Regions from separate parts of the Homo sapiens genome. Here region 2 is linked to region 1. The links are contacts of gene promoters, found by promoter capture Hi-C in blood cells and fetal thymus (Javierre and others, 2016). All regions are on one chromosome and are shown on one strand. Each heading gives the region's core, a stretch centred on a gene start or on the middle of the fragment in contact. The rest is flanking DNA. Distances are from core to core; before and after follow the strand shown. Region 1 holds the start of RIMOC1 (RAB7A interacting MON1-CCZ1 complex subunit 1). Region 2 holds the start of LMBRD2 (LMBR1 domain containing 2).

The links. Contacts are between HindIII fragments. The CHiCAGO score rates a contact against its expected background, and 5 or more counts as called.
Region 2: a contact is called between a fragment that was not itself captured here and the fragment with the promoter of RIMOC1 in region 1, in 3 of 17 cell types (fetal thymus, naive CD8 T cells and neutrophils). The highest score is 6.6, in fetal thymus.

What each region holds. Positions count from the first base shown.
Region 1 is chr5:41,901,122-41,908,820 of GRCh38, reverse strand. It overlaps RIMOC1 (RAB7A interacting MON1-CCZ1 complex subunit 1), which reads right to left and starts at 4,477. Exons shown (of 6, transcript NM_175921.6): 1 at 4,354-4,477; 2 at 979-1,085. The coding sequence starts at 4,453. RefSeq lists enhancers at 4,375-4,494, 4,247-4,793, 4,905-5,044. The HindIII fragment of the contact is 10,560 bases long and covers 1-7,159 here.
Region 2 is chr5:36,147,675-36,155,373 of GRCh38, reverse strand. It overlaps LMBRD2 (LMBR1 domain containing 2), which reads left to right and starts at 3,487. Exons shown (of 18, transcript NM_001007527.2): 1 at 3,487-3,818. SKP2 (S-phase kinase associated protein 2) reads right to left here and starts at 3,263. Exons shown (of 10, transcript NM_005983.4): 1 at 3,104-3,263; 2 at 2,332-2,603. The coding sequence starts at 3,111. It overlaps MIR580 (microRNA 580), which reads left to right and starts at 7,386; the gene lies at 7,386-7,482. It also overlaps the pseudogene RNU6-1305P. RefSeq lists enhancers at 2,957-3,146, 3,220-4,203 and silencers at 3,417-3,556, 4,157-4,216. The HindIII fragment of the contact is 674 bases long and covers 3,874-4,547 here.

The DNA of each region.
Region 1 (7,699 bases), core at 3,228-5,727:
AAGAGGATCTTAAAATTGAAATCTGTATCTCTAGGTCTTTTGCCTTATTCCAGTAAGTTAAAATGTCTGGAACACTCTCGTGAAAAAAATGAGATGACATAAAACACATACAGACAAGCACAGAGTCTTCTGAACAGAAAGAAAACCAAGCAAAATACCTGCCAAACTTAAAACAGTTCTCTGTGGTTTGTGAGTAGCTGTTAGGCTTACTCATCCATGGTGTTTGAAGGCAGAAGCTATCTTTAGAAATTTCCTAACAGGAAGAACAGCACCAAGCATTTAAATGCTATAAATGGGCACTTTGGAAGCCTAACTAAGTGTACTGTACTTTCTGTAACCACTTCAGTTTTATTATCCCTTAGCAATCCAAAAAGGGCACATGAAAACACTCTATCAACTACAAAGTGCTATATAGATGTTAGTTACCATAATAAAATTACATTTCTTGATGTTAGCATGCCTCAGCAGTGTTTCAGAAAACCAAGAAAAAAAGGTGTTGTCCACACAGCAGCCTGATTTGGAAAGGAAAGTTAAAAAAAAAAGTGGGTGAATAGAAAAATCACATAGATATGCATGACACTAGCAGGGAGAATAATATTGAGAATCCTAGGGAAGGTAAATTTCAGGGGAAAAAAAAAAAGTCAGGGCCCTTATATACTCCCCTGCTCCCTCTGAAACTTTCAAGAGATTGGACATTGCACACACTAGTGTCCTGTTCAATTATCTCTAAAGGAAAACAATTCCGTTATCTGTAAGATTTTCTTCCTGACTTTTCTTATTAACACATCTAATAAATCTTACTTCTTTTCATACTACCTCAAAGTTTTAAGTTTTTGTGTTTTATTCATAGTTTTTTGGACAAAATTAAACACTTGAAATATAGAATAAACTGATTTCATTTTACCTAAAGTTGGAGTCAATCATCTAAATAAACAACCTGCCCTCATAAAATGCCAGAGTCCACCACTCTTTCAGTACCTGTGTGTAAAGTTCTAGAAGATTTGATGGATTTGAACATTCTTTCTCTTCTCCACACAGGAGTTTCAATTTTTCTAATGCTGCAGAGGCCCGAATTAAAAAGTGATCTATAAGAAATAAAAACATGAGGATTACTTCACCTAGTTTCAGAGTGTTATTTAAACAAAAAACACATTATGTATGAAGATGAAATGACAAGATGAAATAATATTATGACATATGGAGAAACAGAATTATAGTAATAATATCTTATCTAAAACATGAAATATCTCATAATGCCTAATCCTAATTAAGTAAATTTATCATGAAAATTTTTCCTACAAAGCAAAATACTGAAAACTTTCTAGAGTCACTCTTGCCATTTCTTAAATGCAGTCTGTATTCTCATTATGCTTCTTTTATGATAATGCACTCAAAATAATTAAACAAATTTAAAACTTACTGGAATATACAAATAATATACATAAATATACAGAAAGGGCTTCCACTGAAAACTTAAGATTTCATAAATGTAGTTGCAAATGTTATTCAAAAGACCATGATTGACCAAATCAAATTCCTTACAAAATGCCAGCATTATGAGCAATTTTATAATTGTTTATATCTACTACAATTAAAATTACATAATACATCTGTGTATTTAATTCCTTTAAAAACTTAGAAACAAATTACCTCATTTCCTCAAAACCTGGAAGAAAAGGAACTAAATACTTCTAATAAGTCCTCTAATCACAATTCACCCTCCCTCCGCCTTCACCATCTCCTGATTTTTTTTCCCTTTCTCTAATGTCATAATCCCTTTGTTGCTTCTGTGATTTCACCTTTTCTTATGTGTCCACTTCAAGGTACTATCCACCCTTCTGCAGCACTTCATGAAGTCAAATTTAGATACACCCATAATCAAGACACTAAACTCTCTGAGTTTACCTCTCAGTGCTTCCCTTCTGAAACATAGTCTGATATTCTAAAATATATCCCTTTCTTCTTCATGGGCCAATGAACAGATAGTGTAGCATTTGGTGTAGGCCTACCTGATCCAGCCTCAGGAGTTACACAGATAAGGTGTTCATTGTTGGAGCAAAAGCACCATCAGGTTATGTCTGTTGGCAATCATGTGACTGCTGCCTTAAGTCTTCTCAGGTAAAGCCTGAGATTGCATTTTGACTGCTGTAAGATCCACTTTCACTTGAGTTGAAATCTACTTCTTAGCACTGTCCTTCCACCTCTCATTAGCCCAGAAGTGACATCCACACAATGTAGAAAAAGATTCTACTATAAACTGAAATTACATGGAATATGACATGCCTTAGGTGCTTCTTTAGAGAGTGTGTTGATATTTTGTTTAACTTGCAGGATTATTTTCAATGTAAAGATTTGCATTGAACTCACTAAACCATTGCTGAAAGAGTATGTCACATAAATTGATGACATAATTACTGTGGCAGGGGTGTGGTGGTGGCATAACTCACACTTTGGAAAAGCCCATAAAATGCAGTATTTTGACTAGAACTATTTAGTCAAAGTAATGACTGGCAAAGCAAAAGATGAAACTGATTCTTATATAATCTGTGGAAAAACTCCCTCATGACGTACTTCCATAGAGTAAACAGATTGTGCTTGTATGATGAGAAATAAATTAACAAAAATTGGCTAGAAATTTAAAGACGCATTCTTAGATGAAATAATGTCTGGCTGTATCTCATCTAATCTGAAGAAGACAATGGAAATCATCAAACCCTTATATCCTAGTATAAATATATACTCATTACATTAAAGAACAAAGTTTGAATGTATATTATTCTTGTTGCGTGGAAAAATAATGCCAAATTCAATTCAAGTACATGAAATCTTGTTTTAATTAAAGTTCATAAATCTTGTAATATTTTTAAGATTGAACTGATTTCCATGCTGATCAACGGCTCATAATGTGGACCACTAACATTGTCATTTTATTTTAGTAAATTTTCAGAAGTATAAAGCCTTCAAACAAGAATTCCATATATAGCACATGACTTTTATTTCCAGCTCTGATTCATTCCAGATTAAAGAACTCTTCCAAGGGAAATGAGAATGGCTTTTTAGTTCAGTGATAAGTGAATAAAAAACATTCTTTGGTCTCTTTGGACTGGTTCAAGTGAATCTGGAATTAGAGGTAACATAGATAACTTTCAAGTTAATAGCTCCTACTACCCAAGAATTATTCATGTGAATCCACAGACCAAAATATAAGTCGGCTTCAGGGTGGTCTGTAGGTCTTTAAAGAACACACTCCTGGCCTGGCACAGTGGCTCACGCCTGTAATCCCAGCACTTTGGGAAGCCAAAGCGGGTGGAATGCTTGAGCCCAGGAGTTCAGGACCAACCTGGATGACATGGTGAACCCCGTTTCTACAAAATATGCCAAAGTTAGCCGGGCGAGATGGTGTGCGCCTGTTGTCCCACTACTAGAGGGGCTCCAGCCTGAGCAACAGAATGATACTCTGCCTCTAAAAACAAAACAAAACAAAACACTCCTGATAAATGATAATCTGGCAAAAAATATTCACTGAAACTAAGGCATTTCATCATAGACCCTATTTAATAACAAATTCACCAACTATTCAATCGCTTAAGAAAATGTTCCACCACTGTTTTCCTATGAGTCCGATGATATGAGTCAGTCCACAGAATTTTAAAAACTATCTGTAGTAATTGCTCAAACTCAAAAAGGAATAATGTAGAACCTAAAGGCAGCTGAGACGTAATGAAAAGAATTGGACTTAAATTCAGAAGGTTGAGGCAATTCCCTAGCCCAGTTTTTCCTAACAGCTTAGACCTTTCCAAAACAAGTATGCCAATACTTAACAGAGCCCTTGTGAGAACTGGCATGATGTATGGGGCAGAATAGTCTACACACCAATGTAAAGCTCTTCTATAGAATGTTGTTTTGAATCCAAAACGTAAAACGCAAATTACAACGCAGCAATGAAAAAGTGGAACTGTTATACATGTCTTTTTATCTTTACAGGATGCAAACCACCATAACTAATTTGAGTGTTATCATTCATCTTAGCCATTTATTTAAACTTCTGTATTTTATTTAGATTCTGCCCTTCTTCCAATCGCTACCGAGACAGTTTACACCAGCACGGATCTAGACAGATTTTCCATGGGTTCTGAATAATGCGGTTTTCGAAGACAACGCCTTGGCATTGTGAGTTCTGGGAAGTGGGCAATCGATGGCGCAGAGGGGCTCAGAAGCGACAGACCTCGGGTAACCACCTGCGGCCTGGGACCCAAAGGAACACAGGCCTCAGCCTCTAGCCCTCACAGCCATCGAGCGCCAGTACCTTAGCGCCGTCTGCCCCGCCCGCCTCCCTCTCCTCCGCTCCCTCACCATCTTCACCGGCAGCTTCGCTAAGTTGCTGTATGTGGGCCTGAGCCAGATCCCCGAGCTCTTCCACTCGTCTCACCACACTAGAGACTGCGGCCGCCATGGCCACAATCGGCGGGTGCGCCCCGGTCACGTGACCGTGTTGGCCCGCAATCACCTGATCCCCCGGCACGGGCGGGGCCTAGGGCGGACCTCTCCTGGTTGGTGGGAGGAGACATCAGCTCCGGAAGAGGGCTGGCCCAGGCCGGCAAAGGTCTTTCCGGGTCATTTTTCCCTCCTGGACTTCCCTTCCCTCCCATAATCCTGAGCAGCAAGGAGACTAGGGGCGGGTGTGACGTTGAGACACGCCTCTCTCTAGCCCCCTCCTGTAAGCCAATAGGGAGCCAGCCGTGCCCCTCGGCTGACCCAATCGGAAGTCAGCTCTCTCCGCCTGCCTCTTGGAAGACAGCTTGGTGACGTCTGGCTGGCAGGATGCGGATTGTCGTCCGCACTCCCACTTCCCTGTCCGGCGCGGGAAGCACAGTCTGGAGGGCGGACGCGAGGGTCTGGAGAGAGGACTGTCAGTTTTGGCCTTGTAGTAAGGAGGTTGCTAAAATAAAGTGATTATAATCTCCTGGTCCTAAATGGAAACCCGACCGGCCCCCTGTGTAACACATCCAAGTCTCCAAGAGTTTGTTGTACATCTGGATGGGGAGCTCCAAACACTAGTGGAGTTGCCAGTCTACATGGTTGAATATTGCTTTTGTAAATCTGATTTTTAGCAGTCGAATTTATCTCTGACCTCCCTTGGAGTTCACATTTAAAGTACTTTAGACATCTTGCGTCCAGTGGTAGTAAATTCTGCGGCCACAAAACTATTTTCATTTTTCTTTCATCTCAAGACCTTCCCTTAAGGCGCTAATTGTGCATGAGGTTCATCCTCTCAATCGGGAGTTTCAAAGCACTCAGTCAGCAAGTCTAACTTCACTTTGCATTCTGTGAATGCTTTCTTGCCTCTGGTCAAACAAATCGTTAACTCTGTGTATTCATTTCTCAGTTTGACACACTATATCTTGAATAATCTCCATCCTATTGTTTCTCATGGAAGGTAGTTTTTTATATGTAATAGAAAAATACTAAAAATAGAGAAAAAGTGTATTGTGATTTATAAGTGATTGACCACAATGACTCTCTAACTGACCTTTGTAATACCAGTTTCTTCTGACAATTCACCCTAAATATAGAGGACAGGAATCATGTATTTTGTGTCCTTGGTGCCTCATACAGTGCCTGGCACATATGCACTCTTGTCAACAAGCAAGATGGCAAGGGGATATGATGTGGTCTGTGGGAGTAGACAATTATTCAATAGTGTGGGAATTGTAGGTGAGGAAAAAAAGAATCTAAGTATAAACAAGAAGTTGAGAGAAGGCTTTCTCAACAAGGGATGGAGAAGGTGGTAGTTGAAGAGGGGCAAGTGCTGGAAGGTAGGGTGGAGAATGATCGTATCTGTACACAAAGGGGGAAAAATAGGGAAATAGGGATAAATTCAAAATGAAAGTAGGGAGCCAGCAATGGATAGAGAAAAGAGCAGAAGGTTACACCTGATGCCTTCTGAATCTTCTACAAGATGTAGAACTAAATGAAGCCTTCAGAAGATTTTACTAAACTTTTCAAAAAATAATTTTCAAAAAATAATTAACCTTTGATTAGGAATTTTCAGTCTCCTAGAAAATGTGTAATTTACCATTCTTAAACTACTTAAAAGAATTACCTGGACATGTGGGCAACAGACAAAGGCACAGCTGAAATATTTTGACTGTGGATCTACAAATTATCTCTGCAGAAGTGTTTTACTCTCAGGTCCACTGTTCTTCTCAGGCTTTTATAAAAGACATCTTAGGATCTATGTAATCAGGTCATCCATTTTCTAGCCATGAGATTTGGGTCTGGGAGATCTTGCTCATGATTTCGAAGTGATCTTGGATCGCCATTTGAATCAAGGGTTCCTTTTTAAAATAAACATTTAGAGTCAAATATTCAAAAGGCCCTTTTATTACAACCACAGCTTTATCTGTTCCCTCTCCATAAATGTGGCTATTGAAAACATTTTAGGCCAGGTATAATGGCTCATGCCTGTAATCCCAGCACTTTGGGAGATGTAGGCAGGCAGATCACCTGAGGTCAGGGGTTCAAAACCAGCCTGGCCAACATAGTGAAACCCCTTCTCTACTAAAAATACAAAAAAATTAGCCAGGCATGGTGGCACATGACTGCAGTGACAGCTGCTCAGGAGGCTGAGGCAGGAGAATTGCTTGAACCCAGGAGGTGGCCATTTCAGTGAACCGAGATCGCACCACTGCACTCCTGTCTGGGTTACAGAGAGAGACTCTGTCCCAAAACATAAATAAATAAAAATAAAAAATAAAAACATTTTAGTGGAGTGTGTTTCCAATACTTCAAAGTCTTTTTCTTGTTTTCCTTTATGTTCTCTTTCCCTAGTTAATGTCGTGGTCAAATGTAGAAACTTCATGTTTGTTAATGCATTTTATTTAGTTCAAAGTTTAAGTGAACTGTAAAATATTGAAACATAATAAAATCACCCTTACCCCCATAACTTCTTCCTTGCCATCTTTGCTCAATCTCTCCAGACTCTGCTACATTTCTTCTGGCTCTATCAGGCTAAGCCAGTCTTGTCTGTTTGAACTACCAAGGAGCACTGAGTCCTGACGTTAAGACTCTTTCATATTTACCAGGCTCCTAATAAAGTATTTCTCTCTAGCTATGAGTGTGATTCTAATTTTTAGCCCTCTATGGTAAACACCAAGCTTTGTGACAAAAATGATACAAAAGGAGACACAACAAACAAATATCATGAATATATTTGCAAAAATCCTAACTAGAATATACTCAATTTAAAAGATGGGTAGGCCGGGCGCGGTGGCTCACGCCTGTAATCCCAGCACTTTGGGAGGCCGAGGCGGGCGGATCACGAGGTCAGGAGATCGAGACCATCCCGGCTAAAACGGTGAAACCCCGTCTCTACTAAAAATACAAAAAAATTAGCCGGGCGTAGTGGCGGGCGCCTGTAGTCCCAGCTACTTGGGAGGCTGAGGCAGGAGAATGGCGTGAACCCGGGAGGCGGAGCTTGCAGTGAGCCGAGATCCCGCCACTGCACTCCAGCCTGGGTGATAGAACGAGACTCCGTCTCAAAAAAAAAAAAAAAAAAAAAAAAAAAGATGGGTAATACCCAAAATCTTAAGCACTCAGTCTCATACACTGTTGTTAGGAATATACTTTTATACAAACTACTGAAGGATGAATTATGTATTAAAGCCTTTAAAAATAACTGATCCAGTTATTTATCCTA
Region 2 (7,699 bases), core at 2,961-5,460, 5.8 Mb after region 1:
AATGAGGATTCAAACCCAGATCTGACTTCACTACAACCCTCTACTGCTTTTCTAACTAATCCAATTCCTGATGTATATTCCCAGACCATAAATTGGGCAAAGTTCTCTTTCCTAAAGAAAAGGCTGAAAACAAACGTATTTATTTTCTTAATTAAAAGTGGAATGCATCTCGAATCCGCATGTCTTCCTGCGCAGGGGCCATGCTAATCTTCTCTGTATTTCCAGTTTCAGTATATGTGCTGCCAAAGCGAGCAACCAACCAATCAACTAAACAACCAATCTATCAACCCTTCTGCAAAGGAAACCAGATGGGAGAATTTATGAATATACTTAAATTACCTTGGGTCTGCAAGACTTCATCTTTAAATGTTTAATCTGTTTCTTCTTCGCCATCATCCCCCACCTGATTTCAATTTAGACTCTGATCACCTCTTCCACAGATGATTTCAACAGCCTCCTAAATTCTGTTGACTTTAATGTGGGAATATATCCGGAATCTGACCACCCTCACCCCCAACAAGACTTCAAGCTTTGGCCAGGTGTGGTGGCTCATGCCTGTAATCCCAGCACTTTGGGAGGCCAAGGCTGGAGGATCGCCTGAGTCCAGGAGTTTGAGACCAGCCTGGGCAAGATGGTGAGAACGCCCCCGCAACCTCCATCTCTACAAAAAATAAAAAAATTGCTGGGCGTGGTGGTGCATGCCTGTAGTCTCAGTTACTTAGGAGGCTGAGGCAGGAGAATCGTTCGAATCCAGGTGAAGACAGTGAGCCAAGAGCAGGTCACTGCATTCCAGCCTGGGCAACAGAGCAAGACTCCGTCTTGAAAATATGAAATTTAAAAAAGACCCTAAGTTTCTACCCTTGATGCCCCTGCAGCTGAGTCTCAACACATCAGTGTGTCATTTTTAGAAGGTTAAATCAGGTCCCATCACAACTCTGCTCAACATTACCTCCAGCCTGATCTCCCCCGACTCTCCCTTTCGCTCATTCCACTCTTAGAATATGGCTTCCCTGTTCCTGGAACAAATACGTCACATTTATGCACCAGGGTCTTTGCAGTGGCTGTTCCTTCTGCTTGGAGCTCTTTTCTCCAAGATATTTGCATGGCACACTCCTTGCCTCCTTTATGTCTTTGCTTAAAGGTCACTGTCCAATTGAGGCTTTCTCTCAATACCTGGTTTAAAAGTGCACTCTATCTTCCCACCCCAAGACCTGCATTCCCTCTTGGCTTGTTCTATTTTTGTTTTTAGCCATAGCTCTTATCACCTTCTAACATACTATATAAAAATAGTTATTGTGTTTATTGTATTCTCTCACTAGAATGGATGCTCCCTGAGAGCAGAAATGTTTGTTGTGCCCACTCCTCTATCTCCAGCACCTGGAACACGGCCTAGCACATGGTATGTGCTCAGCAAATATTTGCTGTATTACTGTTTTAAATAGCTTACTAGTAAGAAAAACTGATAACCCCAGGTCAATGCCCTGTTTATCCTATGGCTTTTGCATACTCCAGGGTTCTGGTTCACTCTGGGAGGCACTCGTTCGCCTGCTTGAGGAACTAGGGGATGGGGAGCTATTAAGGAGGGAAGATACAGTAAGTTCTACATTTCAGTCAATCCATTCTAGTTCGGGGGATAGATCTGGGGAGAAGAAGGTTGGAATTATGAATCCACTCCAATAGTTCAGGCAAGAGACGACGAGAACTTGAGAAATAGTTACCAGAGAAGAGGGAAAGATGCGATGAATGACTGGATGTTGGGGGGCGGTGGGAAGCTGACTGACTCTCAGGTTTTCGGGTTGGGTGATTAAACAGATAGTGTCAGCAGTAATGGAGACAGAACATACCAGGAGAAGCCAATATGGGGGTGGGAGTGGGCCTGGGGAGATGTCTCCCCCACTTAGGTGAACGTTCACTTCGCAGTCCACTGATAAATAACTAAAGTGATTAAGGCAAAAAGATCACTCAGGGGTACAAAGCAAAAGGAATCCTACAAGAAGACCACTGTTTATGTTTCTGTTAAACGGTGAAACTGAGCTGGCCTTGAGGCAGGCAGATTCCCTTCTAAGGAAAAAGGCAGGAATGTCTTCTCATGGGTTAAAATTTTCAAGGTGATTATGCACCAGAACATACATATATATATATATATATATATATATATATCTACCAAGATTCCTGCATACTTGACGACTTGCCCTATTTTGTTGAAAAATAGCTTCAGAATTAGGCAATCTTAAAAGGAACCCATGCTAAAGATCTCTGAACAAAGGTTTCCCAACAACATAGCTAAATCCACCCTTTGCATAACTGACATTTTTACCCTCATGTCCTTACCTGGAAAGTTCTCTCGATTTAGCTTAGGCCTGCGGACAATCACAAAGTCTTTGTCACTCCCTTTGCTCTTCAGCCGTTTCCGTGGGGGGCTCTCCGGGTGGCCCAGGTTTGAGAGCAGTTCCTGGGGGATGTTCTCACTGTCGGGCTCCTCTTTCTCCAGGGCGGAGACCCCCATGCCTGACAGCAGTTCAGAAGTCTTGCTGGAATCCCATCCCCACGTGAAGCTGGTGGCAACGTTGCTACTCAGGTCTGGAATCTCCTGGAGGTGCTTCCTGCAGAAGTGCACAATACCCCCGGTTCCTTTCGAAAACACACCCATAAATAATTTCAAGGCAATTAAAGAAGCTGCAGTTTATGCATTGTAGGAAACCTTCACAGCAGCTAACAGAATCGCATTTTTTATGTGCCTGCGGCGAGTTACCAAGAAAACGAAGAAATGAAAAGAACAAATCGAGAAGGCTTTTTGACTTACGATCCTGCAGAAGGCCTCAAGAATTTCTCCCAGTGGAGGGAACAGACAAGGAGAGAGACAGGGCAATCATACACTGATTGAAAACGGTGGCAGAAAAGCCCAATTAGGGAAGCCAAATAAAACCACACGCTGATCCCCGCACTAAGGCATCCATCCATTCACACTTTCCCCAAGAAGGGGCTAAGCAACCATTCACTTAACAGCATTACTAACAATATTAGCCAGTAGCGATATTCGCGGCCTAAAAGAATTATTAAGAGGGTCCATTTCATGCTCTTCCCCTTTTTGCAATCCGTTTACCTGTGCATAGCGTCCGCAGGCCCGGGAGTTTAAAATACGTGCATTAACTGCAGAGCTGCTCGCCTCCCAGATTCCCGCTTTGGCGCGCGGCGGCTCCGAGCGTGCTGCTCGGGCCCCCAGCAGCCAGACCCGCTAAGCCTAGCAACGTTCCATCCCCACTGCGCGCGCAAGGCTCTACAGCCCGCTCTGCTTCGCGGCCGCACTGAGGCCCAAGGCCTGCTGGGAATTGTAGTTTCCGTCCCGCTTCGTAGTCCGACGGGCTCGCCCTTACTTCCTTCCCTTGCAGCTTTACCCGCCTTCGAGATACCCACAACCCCCCGCGGGAGCGGGACTGGTCGGCCCACGGGGTAGGCGGGGAGGCGGAAGCGGGCGGCGCTACGGCTGACTGGGAAATGTCAGCCGCTGGACTGTAGACGGATTTTCCTTTCTCGGGAGCCCGCAGGCCTTCTGGTGATCGCCAGCGCTGTCGTCTCTGAGCGTGGATCCCAGAACCTGGACAGCTGTGGCGGCCGCCGTTTCCCGGTCCCGTCCAGACGCTGTCTGGCGAGATCGGACGGTGAGCCTAAGGCGGAACGCGTGAGGCGCTTTTGAGTCTGGGGTCCGGGGCCGAGAGCAGGCGGAAAGAGAGGGGACCCGGCAGACCCCGAGTGGCCGCCGCTGCGGGGCCCAAGTCCTTGGCTGCTGAGTGGTGACAGTAGCCCAGCCCGCCGGCCAGGTGAGAGGCTGCGAACTGCTGGCGTCGCACCTGTTCGTCCTTTTGCCAGGAAGCTTCTTCCTCCGTCGGGGAGAAGGCGGCCCTAAGAATTGGGTCTGTGGACGGGATCCTTCCTTTATCTGTAAAATAACGCACAACAGCTAAACACGCCGTTGGAACGAGAGACAATGGTTTAATTTTAGGGGAGCCGGAGACCCCAGCGGGTCCTGTGTGGTGGGAAGGCTGCGCATGCCCTTGCAGCCTTGACAGGTCTCATAAATAGCAACATGGGAATAAATGAAAGGACTGTATTTTGCAACGAGCTTTACCCGTGCACGCAGGGGGCCTCCAGCAAAGCCATTTGGTTGCTTGCTGTCGCTCAGCTGGCTACGTGTGTTTGCGTCGCCGCCTAAAAGCGAGCTGCTTTCAGCCTATCTCTGCTGAGAAGAGTTTGGGGGCAGTAAGAGTAGGGAGCGTGACATATTCCAGGTACAATGACCATGCGAAATCCATTGGGCAAACTATACTACAACTGTGACCCCGGGAAAACAGTGGAAGAGGGAAGGGGGATGAATTCTAAGCCTCATAAAAATGAAGATTTATAAAGTTCATAAGGAAGCATAACAGCTTCATCGCATATTAGAATATTCAGTGATGCTGTATGACACACCCTCTGGTTTCCTTGAAAAAATGATTCGCTCTGTAGTGAAATTAAACCTCCCTTGTGCAGGTATATGCTTGTTTCAAGCTTGGTCCTTAGCTTGAAAAGTAACTGCCTCTTGAGGAAGGAATTCATGAACCTTTAGCTCGTTCTTGAAAGATGAGATTGGTGTAAAGAAGGGATCTGTTCACAACTTGGTTTTGATTGGAACTAGGTGCAGAATCCTAGGCTAAGCCGTTCATCAAACTAATGTTATATGGAAAGCATTTTAAAATGCAATATCCTGATGTTTTACAGAAAGTGACCTTTATGTTACTTTGGCTAAGGAGAAAGCATTTGCCTTTGTTTGAAGCTACGTCCTTTCCCTGAAGATTGCAACTCATAGGAGAAAATATTTTTGACACAAAAAATTATAGTTTCCTTCAGGAAAGGGAACAAAACAGAGAGAGCCTGTAAGCTAATGGAGGAGAAAGAATAAACAAAAATATTTAAGATGCCATAATGAGAATAAACAGTTTTGAGATGTAAAATAATTGGGAGAGCCCACTTCAGATATAGATCTCATAGATAGGAAGGTTTAATCGATGAGATGATTCTAAATTTAAAGATGAGAAATATCTTTGTTCAGTCTTGGTTTTACTAGGAGTTACCTGGGAACTAGAATACTTGCAACATCTGAATTAGTGAACACAAGATCCTCTCTAGGACTTCAGGGAGAGCCTGTCAGTTTTGAAATTCAGTTTGATAGTTTGCCCCGGTAACAGACATACTTCATCTTCCTAATATGGGAATAATTTTTTTTTGCCTTCCTTCTAATCATGACTATTGCCTTAATATAATAAATGCAAGTTTAAATTGGTACATTAGATTCTTTTTAACGTAAGGAATTGTGTCCATTGAAGACGAGATTAGTAGGTACATAGAGGTTGCTATCTGGTCATAAAGAACTGCATTGTGATTGCTACTGATGTATCTTATTTTTTCTGATTAATTTTATTTTTATTTTTTGAGAAGAAATTTCACTCTTATTGCCCAGGCTGGAGTGCAATGGCGCAATCTCGGCTCACCATAACCTCCACCTCCCATGTTCAAGCAATTCCCCTGCCTCAGCCTTCCTGAGTAGCTGGGATTACAGGCATGCGCCACCACGCCTGGCTAATTTTGTATTTTTAGTGGAGACGGGGTTTCTGCATGTTGGTCAGGCTGGTCTCGAACTCCCGACCTCAGATGATCCACCCACCTCAGCCTCCTAAAGTGCTGAGATTACAGGCGTGAGCCTCCGTGCCCAGCCGATTCTTACATCTCTTTAAAAGGAAGACGGTCCACCCTTCTTTGTTTCTCCATCCTGCTGTCTAGATGATGATAGGATTCCTGGAGTTCCAGCATCTGTCCTGGAACATAAGGATTAAAGCCACCTGCTAAGGATGTGGACTATAGAAGGGGCCTGGGCCTCTGATAATCTGCTAACTTGCCATAACCACCTATCTCAAGACTTACACGAGAAATAAATTCTGCATTGTATAAGTCTGTACTATATTGGACTTTTCTGTTATGTGTAGCCAAACTAATCTTGAATAATGTATTTCCAGAACTGATAGTCTCTGTGGTGGTGGCAGCTACCTGTTTACATAACCCTTATCACCCCCTAATGTATTTTTTTTAATTGCCTGTTTCTTCCCACTAGACTTTTTAAGGGCAGGGACTTTGCTTGGATTTTTCTATCTCCAGCCCCTTGAACAGAGCTCACCATATAGTAGGCGTTCAGTAAATATTTGCTAAATGAATGAATGGTGCTTGGAACTAAGTAGATCTTTAATTCATTGTAATTTAATGCTCTAAGATAGGCAGCTTGGGGCAAGAACAAACGGATTCTAATTTACTCTATGTTTTCCACTTTTCCCATGTAGAGTACAGTCATATATTACCCTTAAATCAAGTAATAGTAGTATAATCTGTAATGTAAAAAGTTTGCGTTAAATTCTTTATTAAACATGACTAAGCATTCTGTCCTGATATATCTAAAAGAAATGGGAGAAAGTTTCTAATTTGTTCCCTGTGAAGACTGAACAAAATAAATCATTAAGCAATTTAAATTGCATTAAGAAACTATGTCTAGATTAGAGAAGAGACATGTAATTATGATCCAGGCTCTGTAGTAAAGATGCCTCTATTTGAATCCCAGCTTTACCATTCACCAGCTCTGTTAACTTGGACAAGTTACTTAACCTCTCTGCACTGTTTTTTTTCTGTTAAGCAAGGAAACGAACAGCCCTTTCTTACTAGGTTGTGAGGTCTAATTTGATAAAGCTTGGCAGGTACTAGTATTAATACAATGCTTAAAATTTAGTGAACACATTCTAAATGTTAGCTATTCGTTTTTTGAAATTATTTTATTATTAGGAAGGACTTTACAGATTATTCTCTATCAAAATGTCTTGCAATTTCTATGTATGAAATCTTTAAGAATTCAGTAAAATTTTAGTTCTTTTTTCTTATATGCTTACATGATTGCTACCTCTTCTCTTCATGCCTTGCAAAAGGTAAAGCAGGACAGTATGCCACTGTCCTCAGGGGCTTGTCACATTTTGGAATTCAGGTTACCTGGTTGGTTCGCCAACTCAGCTCTTAGGTACCTTTAAAAAATATTATGATGGTTTTTTTTTTTTTTTCATTTTTCGAGTGGGAGTAATAGTCTCTTGCAGTAGTCTGTGTCCTAAACTGAACTCTCTCATACCTGAAATCTTTAAATATGTGAATAACGATTATGTTTGGAAGATTTAAATTTAATTATTGGTGGAAAATTGTTGACTTAATCATTCACTTCTAATTCTGGTTCTTTTGATTTTTCATAATTAGGATTTTGAGTTGTCTCCTGGTTTTTATTATTTTGCACATATCTGAGTAAAAATACAGATATGTGAAGTTAGATAAAATTTCCAATTGGAACCTAATGATTCATCAGACTCAGATATTTAAGTTAACAGTATTTGAGAATGATGAATCATTAGGTTCCGGTCAGAAATTTTTCATTCAGTTTCAGAATCTTTGGTTTTGACAAAATTGTTGTCAGTGTTTTGTTTGTGTTCTGATCACTTGGTACCCATTCTCTCTCTCTCTCTCTCAAAACATTTGGAATTCTTCAAACTACAAAATTATCTTAACCTCTGAAGTTCCATCAAAGGGTATTTGGCCTGAAAAACTATTATCAGCCGTAAAGTACTCAGGAAACAGTACTTTAGTC